6 separate regions of the Homo sapiens genome follow, and all the other regions are linked to region 5. The links are contacts of gene promoters, found by promoter capture Hi-C in blood cells and fetal thymus (Javierre and others, 2016). All regions are on one chromosome and are shown on one strand. The core of a region is centred on a gene start or on the middle of the fragment in contact, and the rest is flanking DNA. Distances in the headings are between cores, read along the strand shown.

Region 1 (3,843 bases), core at 110-2,609, 1.7 Mb before region 5:
TGTCAGTCTTTCTGTTGTGGAGATTTTTTTTTTTTCAGTCTTTTTGTCTGCCTAGCATTTGCATCCCCTTTCTACGTGAGATTAATCTTGGTGGGAGAAAGAGCAAACTTTAAACTTTAGAAACATTAACTATATAAACTATAAAAACTAAAAATACCAGATACGTTCTCAGCCTGATTTGAAGCAAGGGTTTGGGCAAATACTTCGGGCTCTCTATATTGGATGCACTCATACCAGTTTTTGAGTAGGAAGTTAGTGACACCAAAAAACACGGGAAGTGACTCATTCTCTGATAAAGGAAGTGGTTACAGCACAATTGTGTTCCTGATAGATCAGTGACAACATTATCTAGGACACTCAGTGTTCTAGTTTTGTGGGGGCAGAAGTAGTTTCCTCATCAGCCCAGTTTTGCAGCCTCAATTGGGGCATTGTTCAAGATTCATTGTTCTGAGCAAGATGGTTCCGCTCTCCTGGTGATTCAGAGAGCTACCTATTAGTTTTTAAAATAAACTCTTTTTTATCCTCCCATTTATTCAGTCATGATTGATTTCTTATTTTGCTTGCAAATAAGGACCTTGCTTGATGTATTGTCTATCTCTTAGGCCAAAAGAATAGAGGCCAGAGAAGAGGAGCCAGGCTGGTAGAAACATCTCGCCTTTTCTGCTTGGGTATGCTGTCACCTTTTACAAATGAATAAGCATGTTAATAAGCTGACAAGAGAAAGAGAGAGGAAGAAAACACGTAAAAAAATAAAAATAGGCCAGGCGCTGTGGCTCATGCCTGTAATCTCAGCACTTTGGGAGGCTGAGGTGGGCGGATCACAAGGTCAGGAATTCGAGACCAGCCTGGACAATATGGCGAAACCCCGTCTCAATTAAAAATACCAAAAAAAATTAGCTGGGTGTGGTGGCGGGCGCCTGTAGTCCCAGATACTCAGGAGGCTGAGGCAGGAGAATCGTTTGAACCCAGGAGGTGGAGGTTGCAGTGAGTCAAGATCACGCCACTGCACTCCAGCCTGTGCAACAGAGATAGACTGTCAAAAAAAAAAATTCACGGCATTTATGGCTTTAAGGATCTGTGTAAAAAACTACTGGTAACACTTCAGGGTATCTTTAATGATATCAATTGATATGTCTCTATCATTCATTCATATATCCTTCATTCAGTAGGTAGCCAGACTCTGTGCTTCTTGGTCTCAAGGATGTTTTGAGTTTGAAAAAACTGAAGTTTTACTTCCAACCTAGGTTTTCATTTTCTAAGTCTATACTTTTTGATAAAGTTGTGCTAGACGCCCTTGAAAGAGAGGAGAGAGAGAATGCCTCCTACATGAAATAAAAGAAAAGGGATTACTTTTACTCACAGTGAAGAGTTTCCTTACACCCAGTTTCCTTACTCCTAGATCTGGAGATCTGTGATATCTCCAGATAGGAGTGCAAGGACACAGAACCACTGTAGGGATTCCTCAAAGGCCACAGCAGGACCCTGCTAACTATCAGTGCTGTGTGGAGGAAGCAAGACTTCAGGAGGAATGTTGGTGGGTTTCAGGCTCGCCAAAGTTTGCTCCATCCTCAGTGTGGTGCACAGAAGCATCGGTCAGGAAGAAGGCTGGATTTGGAGGGACCCTGTGGAACAGACTCCAGTGTCTAGGTAGTAAACATTGGACAGATGGCCAATGACCCAGGAGCCACCCTATGTCATTGTGCTACTAAGACCTTCACATACTTCATTACCCTGGTAGTAGAGGGTCCTCAAGAATTGCTGAGATAGATATTTGACTATCTTGGCAAGAAGTGGACAAGAAGTAAGTATTAAGTACATTTATAGAAAATAAAGAAATGCATTATTATATTAGTTTGTTAGAGCTGTTGTAACAAAGTATGTGGACCCTATGGGTTAAACAACAGATATTTATTTTCTCAAAAATATGGTGGCTAGAAGTCCAAGTCAAGTTGTCAGTAGGATGATTTCTCCTGAGGCCTTTCTTGTCTTGTCTTCTCCCTGTGTGTTTACTGTGTGTGCATGGTCTTTGTGTGTGTGTGTATGTGTCCTAATCTCCATGTTTTAATAAGTACACCACTCATATTGGATTAGGGCTCCCCCTATGACCTAATTTTTCCTAAATTACCTTTTTAAAGACCCTATCTCTATATACTGTCACACTCTCAGGTACTGTAGTTTAGAACTTTAGCATATAAATTTTGCGGGACACAATTTATTCCATAACAATTATATTTTGCCCAACTGAGTTTGAGATTGTGTTCAAGTTTTCTCTATTATGATGTTACAAATTATTGTTACTAATAATATAAATAATAATAGCAAATAGGTATTAGGCACTTTTAAAAAACATTTTAGGTGATAACTCATTTAATCCCTGCAATAGTCTAACATAAGAGATATATTGTTCACATTTTATTAATCAGAAAGCTGAGGCATAAGATTTCTGTAACATTTGTAAACACTAGGCTGCACTGTATCCCAATAAAAGTAATACAGTAATTACTAAGCATGGAAGGTATGGCATAATTGATCCTCCAGTTGGATCAGAGAAGGGATTTTTGCTCACTATGACCTTTCTCATTTTGTTCTTGATTCCTGAAGGTTCTGTCCTATCATTTAACATGGGTAGCTGTATTAGTCAGGGTTCTCTAGAAGGACAGAACTAATAGAATACATGTATATATAAAGGGGAGTTTATTAAGGAGTGTTGACTCACAGGATGACAAGGTGAGGTCCCACAATAGGCCATCTGGAAGCTGAGGAGCAAGGAAGCCAGTCCAAGTCCCAAAGCTGAAGAACTTGAGGTCCAATGTTCGAGGGCAAGAAGCATCCATCACAGGATAAAGACATAGGCTGGGAGGATAAGCCAGTCTAGGCTTTATTTATTTATTTATTTATTTATTTATTTATTTATTTATTTTTACATTCTTCTGCCTGCTTTTATTCTGGCCGCAGTGGCAGCTGATTAGATAGATTGTGCCCACCAGGATTGAGGATGGGTCTCCTTTCCCAGTCCACTGACTCAAATGTTAATTTCCTTCAGCAACACCCTCATAGATATACCCACAACGACACTTTGCATCCTTCAATCCAATGAAGTTTACACTCAATATTAATCATCACAGTAGCCATTAGTAATGCTAAAATTGGCTGGCTAGGAATTAGAGGTGAGATAAAACTCTTGAAATTATCTTTTTTTTTTTTTTTGTGACAGAGTCTTGCTCTGTCACCCAGGCTGGAGTGCGATGGTGCAATCTTGGCTCACTGAAACCTCTGCCTCCCGGGTTCAGGCGATTCTTCTGCCTCAGCCTCCCAAGTAGCTGGGACTACAGGCACATGCCACCATGCCTGGCTAATTTTTGCATTTTTGGTAGAGACGAGGTTTCACCATACTGGCCAGGCTGGTCTCGAGCTCCTGACCTTGTGATCCGCCTGCCTCAGCCTCCCAAAGTGCTGGCATTACAGACATGAGCCACTGCGCCCGGCCAAAATTATCTTCTTTTTTATCGTGGGGTACAGATATTTGGGTCTCTGGTTTCTATGTTATAGATAAAATCATAGTATAGAAATGCTACGAGTCTACAGCCTTATTATTATTTTTTTAATTTAATGGGCCTAGATTTGGCTCTGCAATAAAAAGTATTCCCAAACCTCAGTCAGTAAGGGTGCAATCTCCCTTCTGTAGTGGCATTTAAAGTCTTATTTTTCAGTCTTAGGGTCCATCCTCGTTGTTCAGTTTGTTTGGTTGTTTTTTTTTTTTTTTGTACTCTTCAGGTTTTGAGTGACTTTATTGGGAATTATGTGAGTCAGGGTCTACAAGATATTGATCTAGGACTTATTTCC
Region 2 (3,939 bases), core at 1,107-3,606, 1.2 Mb before region 5:
CTTTGGGATCTGTTGTTGTGTTGTTATTTTACACATCACTTGCAGTTATCCACGTGTGATTACTGGAAGGTGGGCTATGAGGTTAATTGACTGCAGTCATTTAGTCAATGTTTACGAAAGCAGACTTCTAAGTCCTCTTGACTCTATGTCCATGGGTCCCTATATTTTGCTCTTTAGCAGGCCTAACCTATGCTTGTAACTTAGAATATTATTCAATATGATGTTCTATTTCTCCCTTTTGCTTATTGTAATACACTGTATCTCACACTTTTTGACTTAATTAAACCGAGATATAGTCTATGTATTAATTTTGCTAGGGCTGTCATAACAAAGTATCACAGATTGGGTGGCTTAAACAACAAAAATTTATTTTCTCATGATTGTGGAAGCTAAAAGTCTGAGAGCAAGGAATCAGCAGGGTTATTTTTTTTTTCTATGACCTTTCTCCTTGGCTTGTAGATGACCATTTTTTCCTCTTCTACCTGTCTTCTCATTGTCTTCTCTCTCTACATGTCTATGTCCAAATCTCTTCTTACAAGGATACCATTCAGATTTTTAGACCCACTCTAATGGCCTCATTTTAACTTGATCACCTCTTTAAAAAAACTTATCTCCCAATACAGCCATATTCTGAGGTACTGGAGACTAGGGATTTAAGATATGAATTACAGTTTGAAGGACTCAAACTGCTTGCTGATAGTTTAGAATTTCAAAATCAAAAACCTCTACTTTACCCTTTCTAACCAAAACAAGTAAAACATATTCAAGTTAAGAGGTTTAAAGATAATACTGACTTTCAAATGGAATGTGAAATTCCTCAAGGGCCATGAAAATGTCACAGAAATTCTTTTTGCCCCGGTCCCCCACACATCCAATTTTGATTAGATTAAAACCCACACAACTGGCTATTACTAACTATTCCCATTAGGGCTACCTGAGAGATTTATGAAATGATCTGTTGTTACATCTAAAACAGTTATTATTTCTGCTAATTAATAATTCATTTAAACTAAATATGCAGACAAAATACTAACCTGTCTTCAGGACCCAGTAGCAAATTACTAAATCAGGCCTGATTCTACCTTAGTATTCCAAAGACTATGACAGCATTTGTCAACAAATATTAAAAATAGTGTCATTTGGTTCTGTGTCGGTGACAAAGATCATGACACTTTTCAGAAAGGCCAAGCAAAATCAGTATTTCTGTATGATTCAAAGTATAGTGTGATAAGAGATAGAGAGAAGACTAAGAAAGGAACAGAACATGAAAAGCATTATGTATCAAAGATCTTGGACTCCAATATCCAAAATAAATTCACAGGGTGCCTATTCTGTTCTACGTACCATTTGAATCCCTAAATACACAACAATTCTCCTGACAGAAATGATTTCTGGTCTCATGGAACTCAGTATCTCACAGGGAAGACACACAATCCCCAATAGGGGGAGGTCCTTTGAAGAATTTCATATAGTTAAGCCACATGATCAGATTTTTAACAATTCCTAAGAATCAGATCTCCCAAATTTAACTTAGTTGAATGTTTAAATTTAATTCAGATTTATTTTTTTTTCTTGGATAGAAAAATAAAGATGCACGTTAAGCTTCTAGCAACATTCTGGAGGTTAGAAAGCTGAACTCAAAATCATCTGTCCCCATTCTTGTGATACCAGAGAAAAAGTGGCTGGGCAGACGTGACACTAAGTATTCCCATTCTATAACCCTGGTTCCTTCCAGGCTGTGTTAATCTGGCATTCCAGGGCTAGCGATAAAGCCCTGGGGTGCTTTGTTTACAAACCAAGGCAAAATAATTTACAGAATATTTTCCTATAAAAAGAATAACTTCAAGAGGTTTTAAACTTTTCCTAATAATACTGACTTTTAAGAACTCTTTGAAATTGCCTTCAAAAGCAGTTTAAAATAATAAAAGAATTCAGGATAATAATTTTAAGATCCCATATTCTTTCAGTGGTTCTCAAAATGTGGTCTCCAGACCACATCAGTATCACCTGGAAACTTTTTAGAAAAGTACGTTTTCAGGTCCCACCCTCAACGAAATGATCAGAAACTCTGAGGGTAGACAGAGCACTCTGGGTCTGAATGAGAGCCCCATGGTATCCTGAGGCTGTTAATCTGGGGAATCACACTTTAAGAATCACTGTATTATTTTGTCCCAATTAATATTAATCACATTGATCATTTCATCTTATCACTAGCCACCCTTAAGTGACTGAGCAGCTTCTCAAAGCCACCCTCAGAAAATAAATCATTCTTACCAGTGAGGTTATTTAAGAAAGCACGCTGCATGATATCAAGGTAATTCTAATAACAACAACAAAAAAGCAGAAACAGCACAATGGGGTTATTTGGAAAGAGAGAATGATTATTTGAATAAATATATACTCATCAGTCTTGCAACATGGCAATGGAAAAGCTGTGGTCATATAGGTCAAACTTAGTATAAGTAAATTTATATTTTGTTTCCTGACTTATTTTCTGCCAACTTTTTTCCACGGTGTGTGTACAAAAAAAAGTTATCAAGCTGGAGAATCCTAAACAACAGGAATCTTATTTTACACTTCATCATTTATCTTAAGAACGTTTTCAGGCCAGGTGCAGTGGCTCACGCCTGTAATCCCAGCACTTTGGGAAGCCGAAGCAGAGAGATCACTTGAGGTCAGGAGCTCGAGACCAGCCTGGCCAACATAGAGAAACCCCGTCTCTACTAAAAATACAAAAAATTAGCTGAGTGTGGTAGTGGGCGCCTGTAATTCCAGCTACTTGGGAGGCTGAGGCAAGAGAATCGCTTGAACCCGGGAGGTGGAAGTTGCAGTGAGCTGAGTTTGCATGACTGCAATCCAGCCTGGGTGACAGAGCAAGACTCTGTCTCATAAAAACAAAACAAAACAAAACATTTTCATTTCTATTACTTTATTATAAACCACCACGGCACACATTTACCTAGGTAACAAACCTGCACATGTACCCCGGAACTTAAAATAAAATTTTTAAAAAAGAGTACACCAAAAAAAATTGCTAATTGGAGAAACCAGTAAGCACAAATTCCTCAAGTACTTCACAAAGTGTAGCATTTTTGCATTCTGTAGCACATGTAAGCTTCAGTGGAAAGTTGTACAATTCGACATGGCTGTAGCTTGAAAAAGAAGCATGCTATTTCTTATAGGCTTTAATAGGTAAACTCTATTAAAATCATCTTTTTACCAGTAAAGAATTTCTTAATAATTTGCTGTTTGTAAAATAGTTACCTTTTTTAAAGAATGTATGACTTTTTTGGAAATGTATTTTTAAGTGCGTTCTTTCGGACCCACAAATTCAGGATGATGGAAAGGAAGACAGTTGTGGTTTTGCTAAATGAGTAAATGTGTGGAAGTATTACATAACCAAAGGGGTTCATGTTTTAGTGCAAGTGGCTAGAATTTTAAATAGCTCTAAAGTTCCCTTTCTATTGATTTATATTCAGACAAAAAGCCCTACTGTATAAACCAGGAAAGAACAAGCATGTAGATGGATAATACAGCTATATTAGCTGCTATGTCAGCAGTTTCCATACTCAGATTAATGCACAGAGACTCTCTCTTGACATCTGTTTATGTGCCACAAGCCAGACAAACAAAGGCAATCTACTAACCAGCATAAATTACACACACATTTCTTGTCTCTTATTACCAAATGGGTTATTGCCACTCTCAAAAAAAATGTTAAACATTTTTCTTTAACAGAACAAAAGTCTGGACACACTCAATACACATCTCTTGAAATGAAGAACTGTTGTATTTTTAGTATACGTTCTTTGAATGTTATTTCAATTATTTATTAAGTACTCCCAGGCATCTAGGTGTCAAGGAAATAATTTCTTGTGAAATCTCACTGACTCTTTGTTAAATTCTAGTAGATGCTAGAGAGAATATGTTAATTCTCTT
Region 3 (3,570 bases), core at 1,012-3,511, 1.8 Mb before region 5:
TCCAGGTCACACTGATGTAAGAGGTGGGCACCCATGGCCTTGGGCAGCTGCACCTCTGTGGCTTTGCAGGGTAGAGCCCCACTCCCAGCTGGTTTTATGGGCTGGCATTGAGTGTCTGTGCCTTTTCCAGGTGTACAGTGCAAGCTGTCAGTCGATCTATCATTCTTGGGCCTGGAGGACGGTGGCCCTCTTTGCACAGCTCTACTAGGCAGTGCCCCAGTGGGGACTCTGTGTGGGCGCTCTGATCCCATATTTCCCTTCTGCAGTGCCCTAGCAGAGGTTCTTCCTTAGGGCTCCACCCCTGCAGCGAACTTCTGCCTTGACATGCAGGCTTTTCCATACATCTTCTGAAATCTAGGTGGAGGTTCCCAAACCTCAGTTCTTGACTTCTGTGTACCCACAGGCTCAACACCACATGGAAACCACCAAGGCTTGGGACATGCTTCCTCTGAAGCAATGGCCCGAGCTGTACCTTGGCCCCTTTCAGTCATGGCTGGAGCTGAAGCAGCTGGGATGCAGGGAACCATGCTGTAAGGCTGCACATAACAGCGGGGCCTGGGCCCAGTCCATGAAACCATTTTTCCCTCCTAGGCCTCTGGGCCTGTGATGGGAGGGGCTGCTGCAAAGGTCTCTGACATGCCATGCAGACGTTTTCCCCATTATCTTGGTGATTAACATTGGGCTCCTTACTTATGCAAATTTCTGCAGCAGGCTTGAATTTCTTCCCAGAAAATGGGTTTTTCTTTTCTATCACATCCTTAGGCTGCAAATTTCCCAAACTTTTATGCTGTGCTTCCTCTTGAATGCTTTGCTGCTTAGAAATTTCTTCTGCCAGATATGCTAAATCATCTCTCTCAAGTTCGAAGTTCCACAGATCTCTAGAGCAGGGGCAAAATGCTGCCCAGTCTCTTTGCTAAAGTATAGCAAGAGTCACCTTTGCTCCGGTTCCCAAGAAGTTTCTCATCTTCATCTGAGACCACCATAGCCTGGACTTTATTTTCCGTATCACTATCAGCATTTTTGGTCAAAGCCATTCAACAGGTATCTAGGAAGTTCCAAACTTTCCCACATTTTCCTGTCTTCTTCTGAGCCCTCCAAATTGTTCCAACCTCTGCCCATTACCCAGTTCCAAAGTTGCTACCACATTTTTGGTTATCCTTAAAGCAGTGCCTCACTATCTCAGTACCAATTTACTGTATTAGTCCATTCTCACACTGCTATGAAGAAATACCTGAGACTGGGCAATTTATAAAGGAAAAAGTTTAATAGACTCACAGTTCTGCATGGCTGGGGATGCCCCAGGAAATGTACAATCATGGCTGAAGGTAAAGGAGAGGCAGGCACATTCTTAATGGAGGGGGAGGACAGAATGAGTGCAAGCAGGGGAAATTACAGCCCCTTATAAAACCATCAGGTTCTGTGAGACTTACTCATTATCGCAAGAACAGCATGGGGGAAACCACTGCCATGATCCAATTACCTCCACCTGGTCCTACCCTTGACATGTGGGGATTATTACAATTCAAGGTGACATTTGGGTGGGGACACAAAGCCAAACCATATCACACTGTATACAAAAATCAACTCAAAATGGACTAAAAACTTAGATTTAAGGCCTGAAGCTGTAAAACTACTAGAGGAAAACACAGGAAAAAAGCTTCTTATCATTAGCCTGGGCAATAATTTTATTTTCGATATGACTCCAAAAGCACAGGCAAGAAAAACAAAAATGCACAAGTAAAATTGCATCAAATTAAAAACCTCTGCACAGCAAAGAAAACAATCAATAGAGTAAAAAGATAACTTAGGCAATGGGGGAAAATATTTGAAAATTGTACATTTGATAAGGGTTAATATCCCAAATATAAGGAACTCTAACAACCCAATAACAGGAAAACAATGTGATGAAAACACTAGCAAAAGACCTGAATAGACATTTCTCAAAAGAAGATATATAGATAGCCAAAACGTATATAAAAAATGTTCAACATCACTAACAATTAGTAAAATGCAAGTTAAAATCATAATGAGATATCACTTCTTACCTGTTAGAATGGCTATTAGCAAGAAAACAAAAGATTACAAGTATTGAGGCAGATATGAAAGAAAGAGAACCCTTGTACACTGCTGGTAGGAATAGTAGATTAGTACAGTCATAAAAAATAGTATGGAGGTTTCTAAAAAAATAAAAAATAAGACTTAATGTGATCCAGCAACTTCACTTCTGTGTATGTATCCAAAAGTGATGAAATTAGTTCTCAAAGAGATATCTGCCCTCCCATGTTAAGCTGCAGCATTTTTCACAATAGCTAAGATATGGAACCAACTTAAGTGTTCATCAGTGGATGAACGGACAAAGAAAACGTGATGTATATACACAATGGAATACTATTCAGCCTTAAAAAAGAGGGAAATACTGTCATTTGTAACAAACCTGGAGGACATTATGCTAATCAAAACAAGCCAGGCACAAAAAGACAAATACTGCATAATCACATTTATATGTGGAATCTAACAATGTTGAACTATAGTAGCAGAGAGTAGAATGATGGTTAGTAGTGGCTGGGGAAAGGGAAAATGGGATGTTAGTCAAAGAGTGCAAAGTTTCAGACAGACAAGTTAAATAAGTTCTGGAGATCTATTGTACAGCATGGTGACCCTAGCTAATAGTAATAATTTCTTAGAGAGTAGATCTTAAATGTTCTCACCACAAAAAGATAATTATTCAAGGTGATGGATATGTTAATTCATTTGATTCAATCATTTCAAGATGTATAAATATATCAAAACATCACATTGTATGCTGTAAATTATATGACTTACTTGTCAGCTATATCTTAATAAAGCTGAAAAAATAAAACAAACTGAAGCTTAAATAATGAATAGAATTACGCCAGAGGGAAATTACGCCAGTGAGAAGATGAACTGAACAAAAGTGTGAAGAAAGGAAAGATCAACAGAAAAGATAAGTAGATAAGAAGGGGCAGAAAGGAGAAAAATCAATATTTGGAAATGAGATTGAAAGAGTATAAGGCACGCTATTGAAGGGCTCTTAATGCTAAATTTAGGAGTTGAAATATGACTCTTCTCAAGAAAACAAAGAAGGGGAACATCACACTCTGGGGACTGTTGTGGGGTGGGGGTTGGGGGGAGGGATAGCTTTAGGAGATATACCTAATGCTAAATGACGAGTTAATGGGTGCAGCACACCAGCGTGGCACATGTATACATCTGTAACTAACCTGCACATTGTGCACAAGTACCCTAAAACTTAAAGTATAATAATAATAAAATTAAAAAAAAAACAAAGTTTTATGAATGTGAGCCTCTAATTGCTGTTTTAAAGAAAAGCGCTTTCTGAACATGTGAGTTAATGTACATGTTCTTAAGCATGAACATGCACATGTAGACTGCTGCTATGATAACATGACACCAGCAGTTACCACCCATGCTGAAAATACTAGAAAAGCTTTGTTTTATTTATAAAGTGAACTAGAGCCATCTTAAAAGATGAGGATGAATGTTGGCCAAAAGTGTTTTGAGGTAATCTTAGACACATCTCTAATGCCA
Region 4 (3,733 bases), core at 1,101-3,600, 1.2 Mb before region 5:
CTGTTCCTATCAGTGTATAGTCATTTGCATTCACAAAGAAATAGTCTGAAATTAGAATTTATGTTTAAAAGAGAAGCAGAGCATAAAAGTTTGGAAAATTTTCAACCTGACCATGTGGTAGAAAAGAAAAACCCATTTTCTGGGGGGAAATTCAAGCCAGCTGTAGAAATTTGTATAAGTAAAAATAAGCCAAATGTTAATAGCCACGACGATGGGAAAAATGTCTTCAGAGCATGTGAGAGAACTTCCTGGCAGGCCCTTCCATCACAAGCCTAGAAGCTCAGGAGGAAAAAATGGTTTTGTGGGCCAGGCTTAGGGCCCCTGGGACATGGCACCCTGTGTCCCAGACATGGCTAGAAGTGGCCAAGGTACAGCTAGGGCCATTGCTTCAGAGGGTGTATGCCCTATGGATTGGTGGCTTTCATGTGGTGTTGGGCCTTCGGGTGTGCAGAAGGCAAGAGTTGAGGTTTGAAAGCCTCCATCTAGATTTCAGAGGATGTATGGAAACACCTGGATGCCCAGGCAGAAGTCTGCTGCAGGAGAAGAGCCCCCATGGAGAACGTCTACTAGGGCAGTGCAGAGGGGAAATGTGGGGTTGGAGCCCCAGCACAGAGTCCCCATGGGAGAGCTGTGAGAAGAGGGCCACTGTCCTCTAGACCCCAGAATGGTAAATCCACCAACACCTCACACTGTGTGCCTGGAAAAGCTGCAGGCACTTAATGCCAGCCACTGAAAGTAGCCATGAGGGCTGTACCCTGCAAAGCCAGAGACACAGAGTTGCCCAAGGCTTTGGGAGCCCACCCCTTGCATCAGCGTGCCCTCAATATGAGACATGGAGACAAAAGTGCTCATTTCAGAGCTTTAAATTTTAATGACTGCCCTGCTAATTTTCAGACCTTCTTGGGGCCTGTAGTGCCTTTGTTTTGACCAATGTCTCCCCTTTGGAGTGAGAACATTTATCCAATGCAGGTACCCCCATTGTATATTGGAAGTAACTAACTTGTTTTTTATTTTACAGGCTCGTAGGCAGAAGGGACTTGCCTTGTGTAAGATGAGATTTTAGACTTGGACTTTTGTGTTAACGCTGGAATGAGTTAAGACTTTAGGGGACTGTTGGGAAGGCATGACTGCATTTTGAAATTTGAGAAAGATATAAAATTTTGGAAGTGCAGGGGCAGTATAATATGGTCTGGCTCTGTTTCCCCACCCAAATCTCATCTTGAATTGTAATCCCCATGTGTCAAGGGAAGGGCCTGGTAGGAGGTAATTGAATCAGGGTGGTGGACTTCCCCCTTGCTGTTCTCATGATAGTGAATGAGTTCTCAGGAGACATGTTTGTTTGGAAGTGTGTGGCACTTCCCTTTTTGCTTTTTCTCTCCTGCTCCACCATGGGAAGATATGCTTTGCTTCCCCCTTTGCCTTCCTCCATGACTGGAGATAAGTTTCCTGAGGCCACCCCAGCCATGTGGAACTGTGAGTCAATTAAACCTCTTTTCATAAATTACCCAGTCTCTGGTAGTTCTTTATAGCACTGTGAGAATGATGAATACACCCATACATTTTGGAGGTTTTGTCCGTTCCTTTTTATTATTTTTTCTTCATTTTTGTCTGACTGTCTTATTTGAGAGATTCTTTCCTCAACTTGGCTTATTCTGCTGTTAATACTTGTGATTCCATTGTGAAATTCTTGCATCGTGTTATTCAGCTCTGTCAGACCTGTTAGCTTCTATTTTACACAAACTATTTAGTCCCTCTGCCATTCTTAATAGAACTAGAAAAGGCTATTTTAAAATTCATATGGTACCAAAAAAGAGCCTGGAGAGCTAACAAGGCAATCCTAACCAAAAAGAATAAAGCTGGAGGGATCACATTACTTGACTTCAAACTATATTACAGGTCTATAGCAACCAAAACAAGATGGTACTGGTACAAAAACAGGTACATAGACCAGTGGAACCGAATAGAGAGCCCAGAAATAAGGCTGCACACCTACAACCATATGATCTTTGACAAAGCTGACAAAAACAAGCAATGGAAGAATGAATCCTTATTTAATAAATTGTGCTGGGATAACTGGCTAGCCATATGCAGAAGATTAAAGCGGGACCTTCCTTACACCTTATAAAAAATTAACTTAAAATGGCTGAAGACTTAAATGTGAAACCCAAAACTATAAAAACCCTGGAAGATAACCTAGGCAATACCATCCTGCACATAGGTACGGGCAAAGATTTCATGACAAAGATACCAAACACAATCACAAAAAAAGCTAAAATTGACAACTGGGATGTAATTAAACTTAAGAGCTTCTGCGCAGCAAAAAGAAACTACCAACAGTGTAAACAGACAACCTACACAGAGGGAGAAACATTTTGCAAACTATGCATCTGACAAAGGCCTGATATATTGCACCTATAAGAAACTTAAACCAATGTAGAAGAGAAAAATAAACAACTCCATTGAAATACGGAAAAAACATAAACAGACACTTTTTAAAAGTAGACATATATGCAGCCAACAAGCACGTGAAAAAAAGCTCAATATCAGTGGTTACTAGAGAAATGCGACACCATCTCACACTTGTCAGATGGCTATTGCTAAAAAGTCAAAAAATAACGGATGCTGGAGAGATTGTGGAGAAAAGGGAACACTTATACACTTTTGGCTGGAGTATAAATTAGTTCAACCATTGTGGAAAGCATTGTGGTGATTTCTCAAAGAGCTAAAAGCAGAACTACCATTTGACCCAGCAATCCCATTACTGGGTATATGTCCAGAGGAATATAAATCATTCTACTATGAAGACACATGCATGTGAATGTTCACTGCAGTCCTCTTCACAAAAGCAAAGATATGGAATCAACCTAAATGCCCATGAATGACAGACTGGATGAAGAAAATGTAGTACATATACACCAAAGAACACTATGCAGCCATTAAAAATTGAGATCATATTTTTTGTGGAAGCAAGGATGGAGCTGGAAGCCACTATACTTAGCAAACTAATGCAGGAATAGAAAACCAAATACTGTATGTTCTTATTTATACATGGAAGCTAAAATATGAGAACTTATTGTATTAGACCATTTTCATGCTGTTGATAAAGACATACCTGAGACTGGGCAATTTACAAAAGAAAGAGGTTTAATTGGACTTACAGTTCCACATGGCTGGGGAAGCCTCACAATCATGGTGAAAGGCAAGGAGGAGCAAGTCACGTCTTACATGGATGGCAGCAAGCAAAGAGAGATTTTGCAGGAAAGCTCCCCTTTATAATAACTATCAGGTCTTGTGAGACTTACTCACTATCACGAGAACAGCACAGGAAAGTTCAGCCTTTGTGATTCAATTACCTCCCATGGGGTCCCTCCAACAACATATTGGAATTTAAGATGAAATTTGGGTGGGGACACAGACAAACCATATAATTCTGCCCCTGGCCCTCCCAAATCTCATGTTCTAACATTTCAAAACCAATCATGCCTTTCCAACAGTCCCCCAAAATCTTAACTCATTTCAGCATTAACTCAAAAGTCCATAGTCCAAAGTCTCATCTGAGACAAGGTCAGTCCCTTCCACACATGAGCCTGTAAAATCAAAAGTAAGTTAGTTACTTCCTAGATACAATAAGAGAACAGGCACTGGATAAATACAGCCATTTGAAATGGGAGACATTGGCGAAAATGAAAGGACTTACAGGCCCCATGCAAGTGTGAAATCCAGCAGGGCAGTC
Region 5 (3,873 bases), core at 273-2,772:
CCAATATCCCCAGTGACCTGAAACTCATGGGAAGTTGGGAAGGGGTGATAATAAAGGTTTGGGGAGCACTGGACTAGGCAAGCAGTAACTACATCTAAATTCTGCAAGAAATCATTAGCTGAGGAATACTGAATAAGTATGGCAATTATCATGGCAAGTATTTGCAGTGGTGGTATAGGGGGTGATCTGGACGTCCAGGAAGACAGTCGCCCTTGTTTATTTACATGAAAACCTCTCTTCTCCCATCTAAATTTAATCTCCTGAATGGCAAAAGCATTTCCTTCTGTCTTAGCATCGTCCATATTCACCACGAGTCCTTGCATAGGAGAGATTGGTGTATACATGATGACAACCTGACGAAAATTATCTCCACCTCACCTGAAAAGAATTCCCATCTCAGGATTACAACTGGCCTTTTCATTTGTCTTTGGTCTTGCTAGGTGGTACGTATATTCTAGTAATGAGATTAGGGTCACAGGATATTTTAATCATTCATACGGTTGTATGAAGACACACATGTTTATTTGTAGTTATTCTTTGTCCATCAAACTTACAGTAGTCCTCAGTCTAATGCTTGTTTTCTTAATGTTGGAGGGTGATGACAGCCTATTTTATCTCAGGCTGAAAAACTAATACAATTAAATCAGAGAATCATAGCAGGGAACAGTCATCGTGTTCTACGAATAGCCAGACATTTTTACCAAGGGGTCACTTTCCTGAAACCTGTTTGCGGTTCTCTGTAAATAGAAGTAACTAGGCAGATGTAATAAGCCTAATAGCTCACTGAGGTGGGAATTCTCTGCCTTTGGATTCTGATTGTTACTGCCTTGCTTTGGCTTAGGCATGGATAAACTCTTCTGTGGTGAACAAAAATGGCCTCCAGCCAACCTGGTGGGAGACTTCCCTATCTGACCTCCAACCTTCCCTCGTCTTCCCAGACGAGGGGTAGAAAAGTAGCCCTCACTCCTCCACTCCCAGGAAATGTGCATTTCCCTGCAAGAGGAGAGACAATAAAATTTGGTTTGATAGCTGACACTATTCCCTGTTACTTTTCAGATTTTATTAAAATTAAATGTGTTAATTCTTTGTTCTTTCACCCCAGGGCAATTCTGGAAAGAAAACATATCTTAAGATTGAACAGAAAAACTATTATGAAAAACACCAAGCTCACATTTGTTAAATGACTTTGTGCTCTTGAAAAAAATGTATAAAAAGCACATTGCCAACTGCTCTGCGTGATATCCTTTGTTTGGATTTTAGACGCAGCTTGACTGACACAGAGATCCTGAATAAGAGACTCTTTGGATACTGAAAAGTCTCTTAAATAAGGTGATACACAAATTTCAGAGAACAATTTCAACATTGTTCTGTCGAACGTTATACTCAGTCCTGAACCACATTACTTTCCTGTCTACGTTTCATTTCCTGGGGGCTTGCCAAGTGATAAACAGACCCAGGCGTGTGTGGTAGAGTTCGGGTTTTTTAGCACGAAGTGGGTGGCTGGAGTTTGCTTGAAAACATCAATTGACTTTGTGATCATTACAGAAATGCTGGTGTAAGGTGTTCAGAAGACAATGGAGAAAAAATGGAAATACTGTGCTGTCTATTACATCATCCAGATACATTTTGTCAAGGGTAAGACTTCCAGTTGTCCCTTCTTGTCGGATGGGCCGCTTTAGGGGCGGATGGGGCCTCTGTTCATTTAAAATGCCTTGTGACTGCTGCTGAAATTGATCACCAAAGGACAAATCATTACTAAGGGTTTCAGTTATGTATTTAAGCGGCAGGTATAAGAGAGATGCTAGAATCTAGAAATGATTACTAATGAACACTAAAAATAAGAAGGGAATGGGTCATTTGTGCCACTGCTCTGAGGCATTTTCACCCATTTCCTTTCTAACAGGATCTCTGGAGTAATTGGCAAATTGTGTTTCTTGGAAATGAAATGCTCTCCAAATGGTAGCCAAAACAACTGCGGAAAAATTAAAAATTACAAAGCCATCAACGCTCAGAGATCCTTGTTTAACTTTTTTCTCTCTCAAGTACTCTCTTTCTTTTGGATATAACAAGTATTTCTCATCCAAATACTAAGGTCTTTGGGAGTTGAAAACACGTTGAATTTTAATGAGGCATGTGTAGGTATGAACCTGGGAGACAAAGTGGAATCCTTATGACAGTGGGAACGAGAGCCTAATGGGCCTATTTAAAAAGAGAAGGAAGCAAGATTAGTTCTGTATTCCACAGTATGAGAGTATCATAGTAAGCCTGAGTGTCTTAAGAATTAACTGTGCTTTTCAGACATAGCTATGAAAATATTAAGGAGAATTTCTAAATCAAAAGAGATTTGGAATATAATGCTGTAGATAGGATCAGAGCCATATTTTCAGGCAAAGGATAGCTCACAGGAAGTTACATTAAACTGTACTAACCTCTGCCTACCAAACTTTTGCATCCACAGAAGTATGATAATTCCCATTTGTCAAGTACTTTTACTTTTAAGAGGCTTGTTTCTTCTCAGTTGCTTGTCATCTTTTTATCTTTTCCTTTTGTGAGCTTCAGTGGTACTTGTCACAATAATATATATCATTTCTGTAACAGGATTCCATGTTAATTCTAAAACTGAGGCCAACACTATTGAAGGCATGTCACAGTCTCAATGCTTAACACATTTTAAGTGTCCTGTATCACTCAGTCAGACTGCTGATGGGAAAGAGACTCTACTTATGTCTAGTATTTCAGACCATCGATTAGAGGTGATACTAAGTGGAACCTCTACCTAAGGTTAGATGAGGTCCTTTCAATCCTTGTATATTGAAAGTGAAATTTCTTACTCTAATCAACTAGACTGAATTTGGGAGACAGTTTGGAAGTTATGTGGAAGGAAAATAAAATAAAATAAGTAATAATAAAGTTTAAAATAATAAGCATAACATAGGTAATAGTTAACATTAAGTATAGGTTACTTAGAAGTTATATGTAGGCTAAGAAATTTAAGTAGCCCCTCCCAGCATTGCTAACAAGTTGCAGCTGTGAGCTTATCTCAACCTTCCAAGCTTCTTGCCTGCCCCCAGACCCCCACATATTTCTGTAACTCCTGTTTTACCTTACCCCATCTCTGTCTAGCTTCAAGATTGACTGGTTAAGATAACTAAATTGTAAGTTTTCTCAGAATTGTCACGGGTTAAATAATTTACTGTCTTTGCCTGAAACCTGTATCCTGCCTTGTTTTCCCACCTCAAACGACATATAAGCAAGCCTGCTTTCTTTGTCAGAGTCAGCAGCCATTTTGGGCATGAGTCTGCTGTGGGCCTGGATGCCTGAATTAAATAAAGTTCTCTTTGGTCTCTAAAGGTCTCTTTGTCTTCCTTGGCTGGAGTTTTACTGTTATACTTATGAGGGTTATAGAAAGACCACAGACTCTGGGCAACTGAATTCATTCTTTTACTGGAGGTGTGACTTTTTTTGTTTTGTTTCGTTTTTCGTTTTTTTGAGATGGAGTCTCACTCTGTTGCCAGGCTGGAGTGCAGTGGCATGATTTCGGCTCACTGTAATCTCCGCCTCCCAGGTTCAAGCGATTCTCCTGCTTCAGCCTCCCAAGTAGCTGGGACTACAGGCGTGCACCACCACGCCCAGCTAATTTTTGTATTTTTAGTAGAGACGGGGTTTTGCCGTGTTGGCCAGGATGGTCTGGTTCTCTTGACCTCATGATCTGCCCACCTCAGCCTCCCAAAGTGCTGGGATTACAGGCGTGAGCCACTGCGCCAGGCCTGGAGGTGTGACTTTGAGCATACTGTTTCATCTCTCTGTGGCCCAGTTTCTTCCTCATAAAAAGGGGTTAACAACATCACCTATGGCGTGTGAGGGGGATTAAAC
Region 6 (3,746 bases), core at 680-3,179, 1.8 Mb before region 5:
AGTGCTTTGCATAGATTCATAATATTATCCTCCCAGTAATTCTATCAAGTAGGTACTACTACTGTTCCCATTTGCAAATGGGAAAACTGAGAGTCACAGAGTTTAATTAACTTGCCCAATATCACACAGCTATTAGGTAGGGTATCTAGATTTGAACCTAGACACTTGAGGTTCAGAGCCCCTGCTCCCCTGTTTAAGCACGATGCAATCCTGCCTCCGAAAAGTTGGCTATGCTACCTAGTGCAAAATGGAGCAAGAGATTGTAGAATACTTACACTTCCATGCTCTGTTAATCTGGACTCTTGTGTTCTCAGGACTCAAAGATACAATGGAAAAAGCTTTAGATTGAGAATAAAAGGACCATGATTCTATTCCTGAAGTTTCTACTAACTTATCTTCTGACCTGTACAATCAGAAAGTCAGTTATTCATCTGTGAAGTGAGAGGGTTGAACTAGAGCATCAGTGTTCAAACTCTGCTCCTGGAAAGCTTGGGATTTTGCAGAGGTATGGCAGGGTCTGCTTTTCAGATAAGGGAGTGCCAGGGATGAAGAGTTCCTTCTTGACATTGGGAAGTGTTCCTTCTTTTTGCCTTCTGTCATGTTTTATCTTATTGAATGGGTTCAAAATAGATCTTGAAGAGGCAGTGTTTAAATCTGAAGCCACCTCCTTTATTACAATCCCTTCTAGCAGTCTGGCCTTTCTTTCCGGTGTCTATTAATTAATCTGATAATTTTATCACCTACCAGCAAGAGCTAAGGGTGGCTTCAGAATAGCATGCTTTTTCATGGACCTTTGGAAAGACTGTTCTTGCTTTCTTGTTCAAACTTTCTGACTCTAATGATAAAACCTGAAGCTAAATGGAATAGGGAGGTATTTTTATAGCAACCAAGAAGGGTCTTTCAAATTATAGCACATAAATGGTGTATTCTGTTCTCACACTGCTAATAAAGACATACCTGAGACTGAGTAATTTATAAAGGAAAGAGATTTAATGGACTCACAGTTCCTCATGGCTGGGGAGACCTCACAATCATGGCAGAAAGCAAGGAGGAGCAAGTCACATCTTACATGATGGCTGCAAGGAAAGAGAGAGAATGAGAACTAAGCGAAAAGGGTTTCCTCTTATAAAACCATCAGATCTCATGAGACTTATTCATTACTATGAGAACAGTATGGGGGAAACTGCTCCCATGATTCAATTATCTCCCATCGAGTCCCTCCCACAATATATGAGAATTATGGGAGCTACAATTCACGATGAGATTTGGGTGGGGACATAGCCAAACCATATCAAATGGCTACCCATTCGATCTGTACATGTTCCAAATGTGTGGTCATAAACACATGCATGTGCACACATGCATGCAAACAATGCAGCTAAGTATTTTGCTCTTTACTCATTATAAGGAACACATATATACACAAATGCACACTTCTTTTCCTACTAGCTCATGGTGATCCCATCCGCCTTTATCCATGATACTCATCAGCAGACCCACCCTAGTTAGGTTCATGTATAAAGCACTTGGGTTACTACCTTACACTGTAATACAAAAGGAAAAACAGTTATATAAGAGGTATTTATTAAGAAGATGAGACAGAATTCCCTATTCTGAATCTATCAATCACAGCCACTTTAATAACTTAATATGCATCTCAGGGTAGTAAAATTTGTTTTATTATTATTTTTTATTTGTATAGATTTAGAGGTACAGGTGAAGTTGTGTTGCATGGATAAATTGTGTAGTTGTGAAGTCTGGGCCTTTAGCATACCCATCACCCAAATAGTGTACATTGTACCAAATAGGTAGTATTTCATCTCTCACTCCCCTCCCACCTGTCCACCTATTGGAGTCTCTAATGATTATTATTCTAATTTGTATGTCCATGTGTACCCATTATTTAGCACCCACTTATAAGTGAGAACGTGTGGCTTCTGACTTTCTTCTTCTGAGTCATTAGGCTAGCGGCCTCTAGTTCCATCCACGTTGCTGCAGAAGACATAATTTCATTCTTTTTTATGGCCAAGTAATATTCCATGGCATCTATATACCACATTTTAAATCCAATCATTTGTTGGTGGACACTTAGGTTGATTCCAGACTTTGCCATTGTGAACAGTGCTTTGGTAAACGTATGACTGCAAGTGTCTTTTTGATAGAATAATTTATTTTCCTTTGGGTAGATACCCAGCAGTGGGATTGCTGGATTAAATAGTAATTCTATTTTTAGCTGTTTGAGAAATCTCCAAACTGCTTTCCAAAGAGATTGAACTTATTTTCATTCCCACCAACAGTGTAGACGTGTTCTCTTTTCTCCATATCCACTCCAACATCTGTTGTTTTTTGACTTTTTACTAACAACCATTCTGACTGGTGTGAGATCATATCTCACTGCAGTTTTAGTTTGCATTTCTTTGATGACTGGTGATGTTGAGCATTTTTTTCACATTTGTTGGCTGCTTATATATCTTCCTTAAAAAAGTTCTGTTCATATCCTTTCCTCACTTTTTAATAGGGTTATTTGTTTTTGCTTGTTGAGTTATTTGAATTTCTTATAGATTATGAATATCAGCCCTTTGATTGATAAACTGTTTGCATTTTTTCCATTCTGTAGGTTATCTGTTTAATCTGTTGATTATTTCTTTTGCTGTTCAGAAGGCTTTTAGTTTAAGTTACATTTGTCTATTTTCATTTTTGTTATGTTTCCTTTTAAGGACTTAGTAACAAGTTCTTTGCCTAGACCAATGCACAGAAAATTTTTCTTTGGTTTTCTTCTAAGATTTTTTATAGATTCAGGTCTTACATTTATGTCTTTAATCCATCTTGAGTTAATTTGTGTATATGGTGAGACAAAGGGGTCCAGTATTACTCTTCTGCATATGGTTCTCCATTTGTTCGTGTCATCTGTGACTTCTTTCATCAGTGTTCTGGAGTTCTCCATGTAGAGGTCTTTCACCTTCAGGAGATATAATTTGAAGGGCAACCAGAATTCTCTTTAGCCCCATCATATATGTAAAATATCCTACTACTAGATATAATTTTAGGTTTATCTTTTTAGAGGATACATATCTTGGGGGATTTTAATACACTAAGACTGGTTACCTTTCAGTTACATCTTAGCTGAATGGAATTAAGATAATTTCTTTCTACTGAATAAACTGTTTAAGGTAACAAGGACTTCATGCCACACGACTTATATCTCCTATGTAAAGTCCCACCAAGAAATTTGTTCAGATGTTTCAAGAATCAGTGTCTGGAAACACTTGCTTCCCTTAGATACACTGTTTTGCCTCTTTATAGGAAAAGTGAAATGTGTAAATGATTAGTTTAGTAGCAATAAGGACTTTTCTCTGTTTTCACTTTCCCATAAGCTTTGACCTTCTATGTATATATAAGTGAAGTATTAAACTCCCCTTATTCATTTCTAGGTTCATTATCCTATAGTACATGGAATCCAAGGAAGAATTGATCTCCTTATCCCTGTGAATCATCCAGATGTTAACTGCTTCTCAGCATCATGTCCTCCTCGAGATCAATTTGGGAAACTCCTCCCATGGCAAAGACAGCTAGTTGTCTATAATTTGTTTCCTCCTTTTCCTTAGCCCCAGACCCTTGATTTTTAGCTAGGTAAATGTCTATCTATAATAAAGACCCCATTTTCCAGACTTCCTTGCTGCAGGTGTACACATGTGACTAAATCCTAGATGATGAGATGTAAGCTGAAATTGTGTGTGCAACTTCTA

What was found. The method cuts DNA at HindIII sites, captures the fragments that hold promoters and counts their contacts. A CHiCAGO score of 5 or more calls a contact.
Region 1: a fragment that was not itself captured here is called in contact with the fragment with the promoter of CD96 in region 5 in 1 of 17 cell types (non-activated CD4 T cells); the score reaches 6.6 in non-activated CD4 T cells.
Region 2: a fragment that was not itself captured here is called in contact with the fragment with the promoter of CD96 in region 5 in 4 of 17 cell types (activated CD4 T cells, naive CD8 T cells, total B cells and 1 more); the score reaches 6.2 in activated CD4 T cells.
Region 3: a contact is called between a fragment that was not itself captured here and the fragment with the promoter of CD96 in region 5, in 10 of 17 cell types (naive B cells, naive CD8 T cells, non-activated CD4 T cells and 7 more). The highest score is 18.5, in naive B cells.
Region 4: a fragment that was not itself captured here is called in contact with the fragment with the promoter of CD96 in region 5 in 1 of 17 cell types (naive CD8 T cells); the score reaches 6.5 in naive CD8 T cells.
Region 6: a fragment that was not itself captured here is called in contact with the fragment with the promoter of CD96 in region 5 in 5 of 17 cell types (naive CD4 T cells, naive CD8 T cells, naive B cells and 2 more); the score reaches 6.6 in naive CD4 T cells.

What each region holds. Positions count from the first base shown.
Region 1 is chr3:109,806,813-109,810,655 of GRCh38, forward strand. All of the region lies in intron 2 of LOC124906267 (a long non-coding RNA gene), which reads left to right. Among named protein-coding and RNA genes, the nearest start is that of MIR4445, 210 kb to the left of the region's middle. RefSeq lists an enhancer at 1-1,188. The HindIII fragment of the contact is 7,875 bases long and covers 1-3,843 here.
Region 2 is chr3:110,308,173-110,312,111 of GRCh38, forward strand. No RefSeq gene overlaps it. Among named protein-coding and RNA genes, the nearest start is that of MIR4445, 710 kb to the left of the region's middle. The HindIII fragment of the contact is 1,513 bases long and covers 1,601-3,113 here.
Region 3 is chr3:109,737,110-109,740,679 of GRCh38, forward strand. All of the region lies in intron 2 of LOC124906267 (a long non-coding RNA gene), which reads left to right. Among named protein-coding and RNA genes, the nearest start is that of MIR4445, 140 kb to the left of the region's middle. The HindIII fragment of the contact is 1,213 bases long and covers 1,656-2,868 here.
Region 4 is chr3:110,328,521-110,332,253 of GRCh38, forward strand. No RefSeq gene overlaps it. Among named protein-coding and RNA genes, the nearest start is that of MIR4445, 730 kb to the left of the region's middle. The HindIII fragment of the contact is 6,518 bases long and covers 1-3,733 here.
Region 5 is chr3:111,540,675-111,544,547 of GRCh38, forward strand. It overlaps CD96 (CD96 molecule), which reads left to right and starts at 1,523. Exons shown (of 14, transcript NM_005816.5): 1 at 1,523-1,635. The coding sequence starts at 1,575. It overlaps LOC105374039 (a long non-coding RNA gene), which reads left to right. Exons shown (of 3, transcript XR_001740846.1): 3 at 1,261-1,329. The HindIII fragment of the contact is 7,700 bases long and covers 1-3,051 here.
Region 6 is chr3:109,719,271-109,723,016 of GRCh38, forward strand. The region is part of intron 2 of LOC124906267 (a long non-coding RNA gene); the gene reads left to right. Among named protein-coding and RNA genes, the nearest start is that of MIR4445, 120 kb to the left of the region's middle. The HindIII fragment of the contact is 2,886 bases long and covers 487-3,372 here.